Regions from separate parts of the Homo sapiens genome. Here region 1 is linked to region 2. The links are contacts of gene promoters, found by promoter capture Hi-C in human tissues and cell types (Jung and others, 2019). All regions are on one chromosome and are shown on one strand. Each heading gives the region's core, a stretch centred on a gene start or on the middle of the fragment in contact. The rest is flanking DNA. Distances are from core to core; before and after follow the strand shown.

Region 1 (6,175 bases), core at 639-3,138, 110 kb after region 2:
TTCATTCCTCATGTCACAGAATGGGCTATAGATGATGATAGGATTCTCTCCTGGACCACGCTCTGGTCATACTCCTCTGAGATCCCTTTTTGATTAGGCCCCAACTTGGGTTCTGTTCTTGGCCTAGTTAGTTCAATTAGGCAAGAATTCTGCTGGTTCAGTTTAACGAAAATCCCTTATCTTTGATATCTAATCAAATTTCTTATCCCCCCCACATTCAGTATCTTATCACCCTGGCTGCATTCAGCAAGAATTTTGCTAAGTCAGTTTAGCCAGAATCCCTTCGAGGTTTCCTCTCTAGTAATTTTCCACCCACTGACCATCACTTATCCAAAATCCCCACTTATCCTGGTATTCAGAATGCAGCCCCGTTCTATACTGAGGTCTCTCTGTCCCCAGTGCAATAGTTCCTGAATAAAATTTGCCTTCACTGCTTTAACTTATGTCCAGCTCTGCTTTTCTTTCACAGTGCCAGCTTCTGTTCACAACCCAGCTTCCAGTTAACAGTTTGCCCAAGTGAATTTTTAAATACTGTCAGAGCAGTACAATGTTGGATAAAGAGCATCAACAGAGATAACCTGATAAGACAACACATGGGGTCAAATATACAAATATAAAGAAACATAAAAACAAACTAAATATTTATAGTATAGTTCAGTAAATATGGTCTAATTCAATTTAGGATTCCAATGAATGCGTATTTAAAAATGCAAATTACACAAAATTACAAAGAAGGAATATATTTAGAAAATCAGTTTATCAAGGCAGAAAGCAACTGTCAGCAAGAGTATATTGAAATAAACTATGTAAAGAAAAATAACCAATGTAGTGATATGGAAAATGATGAATATCATGAGAGTAATGAAAGTATTTTAAACCATAGTAGTATAAATTGACTTAATTAATCACAGTTTACCAATAAGCTTCTTTCCATTCTTAGTGTGGTCACATTACATTTATTCCTATACATTTTGTTTAGGGATCCATTACCTATAGATATCGCTAACACTTGTACTTACAGATGACCTGGACTGATTCTATGGCAGTATTTCAGTACAGAGTTTTTGCTGATGTCATGATATGAACCACATAAGCAATTAGTGAAGGCCAGCTTACTGAAGAAAATCATCATGCTGATTTAGCAAGGAATTTTCAATCTAAGTTTTTTTCCTGAACTTTGTGCCAGTCAATATATAAAAGTGTCAAACACTATTACATATAAATTATAGGTACTTTAAAAATGATAGACTAATTATCACACACCAAATAGTAATATTTTCTTAAATTTCTTGGCCGGGCGTATTTTTGGAGGCCAAGTATTTTTGGAGGCCGAGGGGGGGCGGATCATGAGGTCAGGAGATCGAGACCATCCTGGCTAACACGGTGAAACCCCATCTCTACCAAAAATACAAAAAATTAGCCGGGCATGGTGGCGGGCACTTGTAGCCCCAGCTACTTGGGAGGCTGAGGCAGGAGAATTGCTTGAACCCGGGAAGCGGAGGTTGCAGTGAGCTGAGATCGCACTACTACACTCCAGCCTGGGTGACAGAGCGAGACTCCGTCTCAAAAAAAAAAACAATTCCTATTTGTTTACTACTATTCTATCACTAAACTCCAGTCTAACTCTGTGGAGGAAAAAAGAAAGATGAAATTATAGGTTTAAAAAAACATCAGTATTCCATTTTGAAATAGTCTCTATGGGTAAGTCAAGTGAAAGTGGTTTATTCAATAAACAGATTTTAAGAAGTCTTTCAAACAAACAAAAACTACAAATACACTAATGCCAAATCATTTTTCTAGTTAGTAATACTTCTTCTCTCATTCTATCCTTAGTAGAAAAGTTCCATTCACCATCCTTCTCATTGTGCTTTTCCTATAATGAAATGCATATATTAAGACTTCTCTGAATGATATATCACTGACTTTGTAATCCTAGATGTAATAGTTTCCATGAGAACAGGAATGTAGCATGACTTTTGTCAGGAAGACAACATGATTCTTTGGTAAAATCTGGTCTTTAAAAAAATTAGACAAAAGAGGTATCCATATTCTTGAAAAGTGTTCATTTTTATTGTTTCGGATCAAATTATCTATAGTTACATGTTAAATACTTTATACTGTTCACAGGTTAATGACTCTGATAGAGAGTCTGTTAGTTGCAAAATTGAACTAAATATAATATAATGAAAAACAAGTTGATGAAATCGTGCATAAATTTTTAAATATGTTTTCAGTATAATTTCCTGGAAAAATATGACAGCATCTGGACAAGGAAGACAGACTTAGACATAAGACTCAAGAAGACAGAAAAATAATTTACACCATAAAAACCATAAAATAGCAATACTTCTTTTGGTAGTCCTTTAAACAACTTGACTCACTAATAATGAAGTCACTGTATATCATATAAAGATGGTACATGGAAAATATATGGCACATTTTCTTTTTGTTTTGTTTTTCATAGCATATCATATTATATCTGTAGAATGTCAGGGTACTTCACTCTATTTCCCCCCCCATATTATCATTTATCATACATTAAAATACAAATTTAAGTAATGACCATTGAATAATTCATAGAGAAAAAAGTGAAGAAGTGCAAAATTATTCAAGCATATTCAAGTACAATTTTACATCTGAATCCTTTCCTGCCATTTAAGTCACAGCTCCCTAGTATTAACCACCCAGGCTGGATACTGTGTATGTGAGCGGGGTTGCCCAAAGGCGCCATTGCTAAAACCACCCCAGAGTAAAAGCAGCTATTAAAATAAAACAACTTAATCCCCTGTACTTTTGTTATAGCTTTACTCTAAAAACACACAATATGGTTAATATGGTTTGCTGCTAGTTTTTTTAAATTCATATTACTTTGTAGAGTTTTATATAATATCTTCATATCTGAAATAAATTTAAAAATATTTAATTTAAATTTATTGCTGTTATAGGAAGACATTAACAGTTACTGAAAATAATATACATAGAAATTTTCATCAATTTCTATTTATCTATGTAGATAATTAATTTTATATTTCATTATTTTATAAGCCTGAAAATATCTCATCATTGTTTAACACTTACAATGCTCTCATGAATGGTTTAAATAAGAATAAAGCTAGTGATAAGGGGTTGATTGAACTTAAACACAGACAGCAGAAATGTGAAAATATATGCTAGTTGTCTTATAGGAGGGGAATAAACTTACTTGGTATTTTAGGAAGTAAAAGTCATTTCTTGATGAAGATTAACATTTTTATCATCTAGAGTTATGTCACAATGGAACAGAAGACTGCCCTCAGAGTAATGAGCTACCTGTTGCTATCTGGGTGCTCGAAGAATGTGGATAATGTAATGGTGAAGATTCTGACATTGGGAGGAAAGCTGAATTGAAACGCATCAAAGATTTATTTTAAATTCTTTTTTTGTCTGTCTGTTTGTTTGTGAGACAGAGTCTCACTCTGTCACCCAGTTTGGAGTGCAGTGGTGCGATCTTGGCTCACTGCAACCTCCATCTCCTGGGCTCAAGCCATTCTTCCACCTCAGCCTCCCTTGAGTAACTGGGATTACAGGCACCTGCCATCATGCCTGGCTAATTTTTGTATTTTTAGTAGAGACAGGGTTTTATCATATTGGCCAGGCTGGTGTCTTAACTCCTGACCTCAAGTGATTTGACTGCCTCGGCCTCCCAAAGTGCTGGGATTACAGGCGTGAGCCACCTGGCCGGGCCTATTTTTAATTCTAAGAATATAAATGAGAGACAACTAAAATTAGTTGCTTGAAGAAAGAAAAAATGATAAAACTTAAAAAGTGTTAAATTGATCCTTATTAAGAGAATAAGCTTGTGTAAGTTCACACGAATTCTCTCACTTCTGGAATTTTTTCAATCATCCAGAATTTCAGATCTTATTCCAAAAATACTAAATTTAGCACTTGGGACAGTGCCAGGCACACATAAGGTACTCAATGAATATTTGTTTAATCAATGATTAAATCATAATCTTCTATGTTGGACACCAAGCATATGTATGTATTTTTAAAATGTGTAAGGAATTCCAACACATAGCCAGGGTTCAAAATCACTTTTTAAAAATAATACTCCATCACCTTAAATGTCTCCTCTTTGTTTATGTGTTAACCACAAAAACTACTGAGAAAACCACCTGTTCAGACACTACAAAGTCATCCAATATTACTAGCTGTCTTTTGAAAAAGGTTTTTGACAGTTATTTAGCTGTTCTTCAAAAACGGTTCAAATAGTGTTTTAGAATTCGATTGTTAAGGGTTAAAGACTTGATCCAGTTAGCTTTGTTTATGTGTTTTTGAGGCAAAAGATTGTTGCATGATTAAGAGCTGGCCAAATCGAATGACTGCATGGTTCATATTTTCCACCAGGAATCACTTAATATTGCAAAACATATCACAGGATTATGAACCTTTGTCTAGAAAAATTGACTGTCTTTGTATTTTTAATCTAAAGGAATTCATCTCATTACCAATATGTGTATGTGTGTGTGTGTGTGTGTGTGTGTGTGTGTGTGTGTGAAAGAGAGAGAGAGAGAGGGAAAGGGAAGAGATGAAGGCATTATTAAGATGTAAAATGTAGACCAAAAAAACAGGTAAGTGGGTCCTAGCTACTAACTTGGGATTATATCTCTTGTCCTCATATCTGGAAGAAGCTTCCCCAGGATATTTTTCCCTGCCCTAGTTCCGTTTAAATTGTAGAGAGTTATATTTTACACATGGCCTATAAGTATCTTTGTTATGGAAGAATATGCATCACTTTACTTTTGAAGTAATTGGAGTACCAGGTGTCTCCCTATGGAAGTTCACTTTTTAATATCACTATGTTTGTAAAGAGGAATGGGGGCTGAGATAAAAGTTTAATTTTAAAGTTAATTAAATTAATGCAATTTACAGTGTACACTGCTTATTTATCCATGAAAGGTTTATATAACAATAAAAAAAATGCAGTGAGGCTATATTTACCACTGTAGCACACAAATAAGGAAATAAAAACCAATGCATCTGCTGAGGAAGATGTCTCTTATACAGGTACAAGATGCAATGGGTATTATGGGTACTTTATTTGCAAGAGGGAATCTGTGTGAACATTTACACTATTTCTTCTAATATATTGTATTAACACCAGATTGTCTTATATTTGGAATGGCTTGCTTTTCTTTGCTAGTTCAATATTAACTAGATGAAAAATATAGGTCGTATATGCTGATAAATTTTGGGAGTTTATGCTATTATCTATGTTGCAAAGAGTGTGGAATCACTTTTGGAGTAGAAGATATCATGACCTCAAGGATTGTTAATGATATCTGTCTAAGGATCATTAGATACATTTTTGTTCTCAGAGTTTTGTTCTTAGAGTGTTCTAAATTTTTAGGGGACACCTGTGAAAAACAATGCTGTCAGTTTCCTTCTTTTCCATTTACAAAATACTGCAAGTATTTTCCATTTCAATTTTGGCAAGTCTCTTGTATTCTCTCATGTCCATTTCCTGGAATGTGTACTTTATAGATGAAATAAAAATTTAGCTGCCAGTATAATATTCAGTCCTCCCAAGTAACCAGCAGGTTGAAGTATGTTGTGTTGAGAAAAATAGAAAAGCATATTTTAAAAAGTGGAATAAAAAATGTTCAGAAAAAGGGATGTATAGTATGGAAGATACATCTAAATCTTTTTTCAAATATTATAACTACTTAAGTTGCACTGAGTACTAAAGTAGTGAACAGCTTGCTCTCTTCTGTTAGTTAAACATTTAGATTATTCATTTTTTTTTCTAAAATTTCCCTTACCTTCCATGAGATCCTGGGTATTCATAAACTAATACATGAATTCATGTCTTAGGGATATATAAATATACAAGCAATTAAATTCCAAATTAAGATAAAAGTTATTAGAATATATCAACAGAATAAGAATTAATTTTAGAATAAGATGAGCAGTCCGGATGATTCCCTAATATAGCCACTGAGAGTTGGATGGGGTCTCCAGCGCCATGGAGAAACTTTTGGAAGGGTTGGAGAAGTTTTAAACACCCTCAGCTTTCTTGAAAATACAGTGACTCTTGAATCTATTTAAAGTTGTAAAGTAAGTTCTAGAGCCTCATTATGGTTTAAGTTCAATTCTAATGGTTGGGAAAGAAAGAAAAGGTTGGGCACATATA
Region 2 (2,500 bases), core at 1-2,500:
AACAGCTTTATAATCAAAGCTGTTTATTGTGTATGCCAATATTGTCCCTGATACTTCACAAGTAGATTGGTCTATTTTAAGTGAGTAGCCGGAAACAGGAAAGCATTGAGGAAAGGCTGATAGAGATGTTTCTACTACAATTCTAACATTGTATACTTTATTATGATTACTATTATTATTATTTTAAAGTACTGTCTCATTGGGGAAAAAGCCGGAGAAAACATATGGTCAAAAGCATCTAGCACTTCTGTGATGATGCTCCTTGAACTTGTATTCTGATATGTTTAAACGAAAAACACTGCCACATTTGATTGTCATTGGACTCCAGCTTTCTGGGAGAAGTTGTTTGTCAACAGTACCTTACTTAACCTACTTTAATTTTCCAAGTTTTGTCTGCAATTTCAATCATTTAATAATTACTGCAGCAGCACTGTCTTTGAATACATAAAGGAATTTTGATTACATTAATGCTGCCAAATGACTACAATAAAAGGATTTCTCCAGCAGTCTTGCCTTTCTTTCGGTTTTACAGCTATTGGGCTGTCAGAAGGAAACGTATCAGTCCAAACTGTCTTTTGGAGCTTCAAGGTAGCTGCTCTCGAGGAGGCAGCGGAGGCGGCACCCAGGGCCCCCTGGCCGGGCTGCCTTCAGGTTGTTGCTTGTTGAGAGCACGTTCCCAGTTGACAGATTGATTCCCCTGTCTTACCTCTCAGTTGTTGCTGGTCAGCCACATCGCACTGGATGAACAGAGTCTTCTGAGGTTCAAACTGCTCATCCAGGGCAGCTTTACACTGTACACCTGCTTCAAGATTCCAATCCACCAGCGCTACCTATAGACAAGAGGAGAGGAATCGCGGGCCTGCGCAGCTCACGAAATAGACGGACAAACAATAAACACACAAGAGGCTCCCCTCCTGGACCTGAAATTTGGCAATTAGGTTTGGGTTCCCTCCCAGCCACTTCTGAGGTGTGCTCACAGCCTCAGCTTCAGCAAATTTTGGAAGTGGCAAAGTGGGCACGCCGGGCGCGGCCTCCCTGTCTCCGCCAGTGCACCTCGGGCGGCGGGGCGAGTCTCGGAGTGTGTGGGCAGAGAAATTTCCGCGGCTGGGCGCCGGGCTTACCTTGGCGCCCTTAAGCAGCAGCGCCTCTGCAAAGGCTCTGCCTATGCCCTGAGCCGCGCCGGTCACCAGCGCCACTTTGCCGTTCACGTGCATGGTGCAGCCACTGCTGGGGCGGGCGGTGGGCGAGCTCCGCGTCTCCGCGCGGCCGCGGCTTTTATGCCCCCCTGCGCGCGCGCGCGTGCAGCCCGGCGGGGCGCTCCCCTGCCAGTGGGCGGGGAGGAAACTGTCAAGCCAGCGCCCGCCGGGGAACCCACGACTGTGTCACCTGCCCCCTGAGCGTTCTGGAGCGCCAAGCTTCGCGATCTTTGCCTTCCGGACTCGCAGACCGGCTCAAAGCCTCCCCTCAGCCTCTGGCTCCGTGATTGGCAGGCAGCTGACAGAAGAAAAGTTAAAAGGTTATTTCTGAAGAAGAGTTTCCTTCAGTGCCCTAAAGACCAACTGGATAGAAGGAGAGCGGAGCAGAGGCTTGGAAGCTTGGATCCCTCCTCCTGCACTCCCTCCCGGCCCCGACTCCGGAACAAAACAAGCAAACAATAAAGCAAACTTGTTGCTCTTTTGTCTCAAAGTTTTGTGTGAGTTCCCATCTCGTAATCAGTGGGGTTGAGGGTGACGGGGAGCAGAAGTAACTAATATCATTGTGTTTTCTTAGTTACATTTTGGACAAATTTTTACGGATACTGGAGATGAGAAGTGGACTCTGCTCTGTCCTGAAAACCTGGAATCATAACATTTCATGGCTAGGACTAGAGTGTCCTTGGCGCTGTGTTTCTGGTCAGTGTCAATTGTGTGTCATATTGAGATGCCCCCACAAAAACTGTCATCATCAACAGGCGCTCCAGAGCCGCTGGTAGCCTACCAAATTGTTGGCTCAATGGAATGCTTACTTGTTGAAATACACCAACTTTGGAAGCTCTGAGTCAAGTTTGGGACAGAGGTTCCTTGCTCTCCAGGAACTCCAGGGCTAGCTGTATGCGGACTTGCATAAATAACAAGGGCTATTCCACTGACTTTGTCTCTTTTTCTCAGGTTGTCAGCGGCAGGCTGCAATTTTAATTCTGTAAACGTAAGTGGTTGGCTTTTTTTTTTTTTTTTTTTTTTTAATCTTGAGACAAGATCTCGCTCTGTCTGTTTGGCTAGAATGCAGTGGCATAATCCCAGCTCGCTGCAACCTCAATCTCCAGGGCTCAAGCGACCCTCCCACCTTGGACTCCCAAAGAGTGCTAAGATTACAGGCATGAGCCACTATGCCCAGCTGGCATTTATTTTCTTAAAGAAAAAAAAAATCTAAATACTTGGGGGAAATGGGAGTTGAGCAAAAGACTGACACTAACAGCAGAATGAATCATTTTTATATCTTCTTTACCTTCTTTACTGGGAAA

The links. The method cuts DNA at HindIII sites, captures the fragments that hold promoters and counts their contacts. A contact is called where the count stands out against the background at its distance.
Region 1: a fragment that was not itself captured here is called in contact with the fragment with the promoter of HPGD in region 2 in 3 of the 25 tissues and cell types used here (liver, pancreas and small bowel).

Annotation. Positions count from the first base shown.
Region 1 is chr4:174,634,872-174,641,046 of GRCh38, forward strand. GLRA3 (glycine receptor alpha 3) reads right to left here. Exons shown (of 10, transcript NM_006529.4): 10 at 2,049-6,175. LOC105377551 (a long non-coding RNA gene) reads left to right here. Exons shown (of 4, transcript XR_939494.3): 4 at 1-430. Among named protein-coding and RNA genes, the nearest start is that of HPGD, 120 kb to the left of the region's middle. The HindIII fragment of the contact is 4,732 bases long and covers 1-4,254 here.
Region 2 is chr4:174,521,238-174,523,737 of GRCh38, forward strand. It overlaps HPGD (15-hydroxyprostaglandin dehydrogenase), which reads right to left and starts at 1,251. Exons shown (of 7, transcript NM_000860.6): 1 at 1,122-1,251; 2 at 707-830. The coding sequence starts at 1,214. LOC105377548 (a long non-coding RNA gene) reads left to right here and starts at 1,376. Exons shown (of 7, transcript XR_007058492.1): 1 at 1,376-1,892; 2 at 2,148-2,184. The HindIII fragment of the contact is 5,489 bases long and covers 1-2,500 here.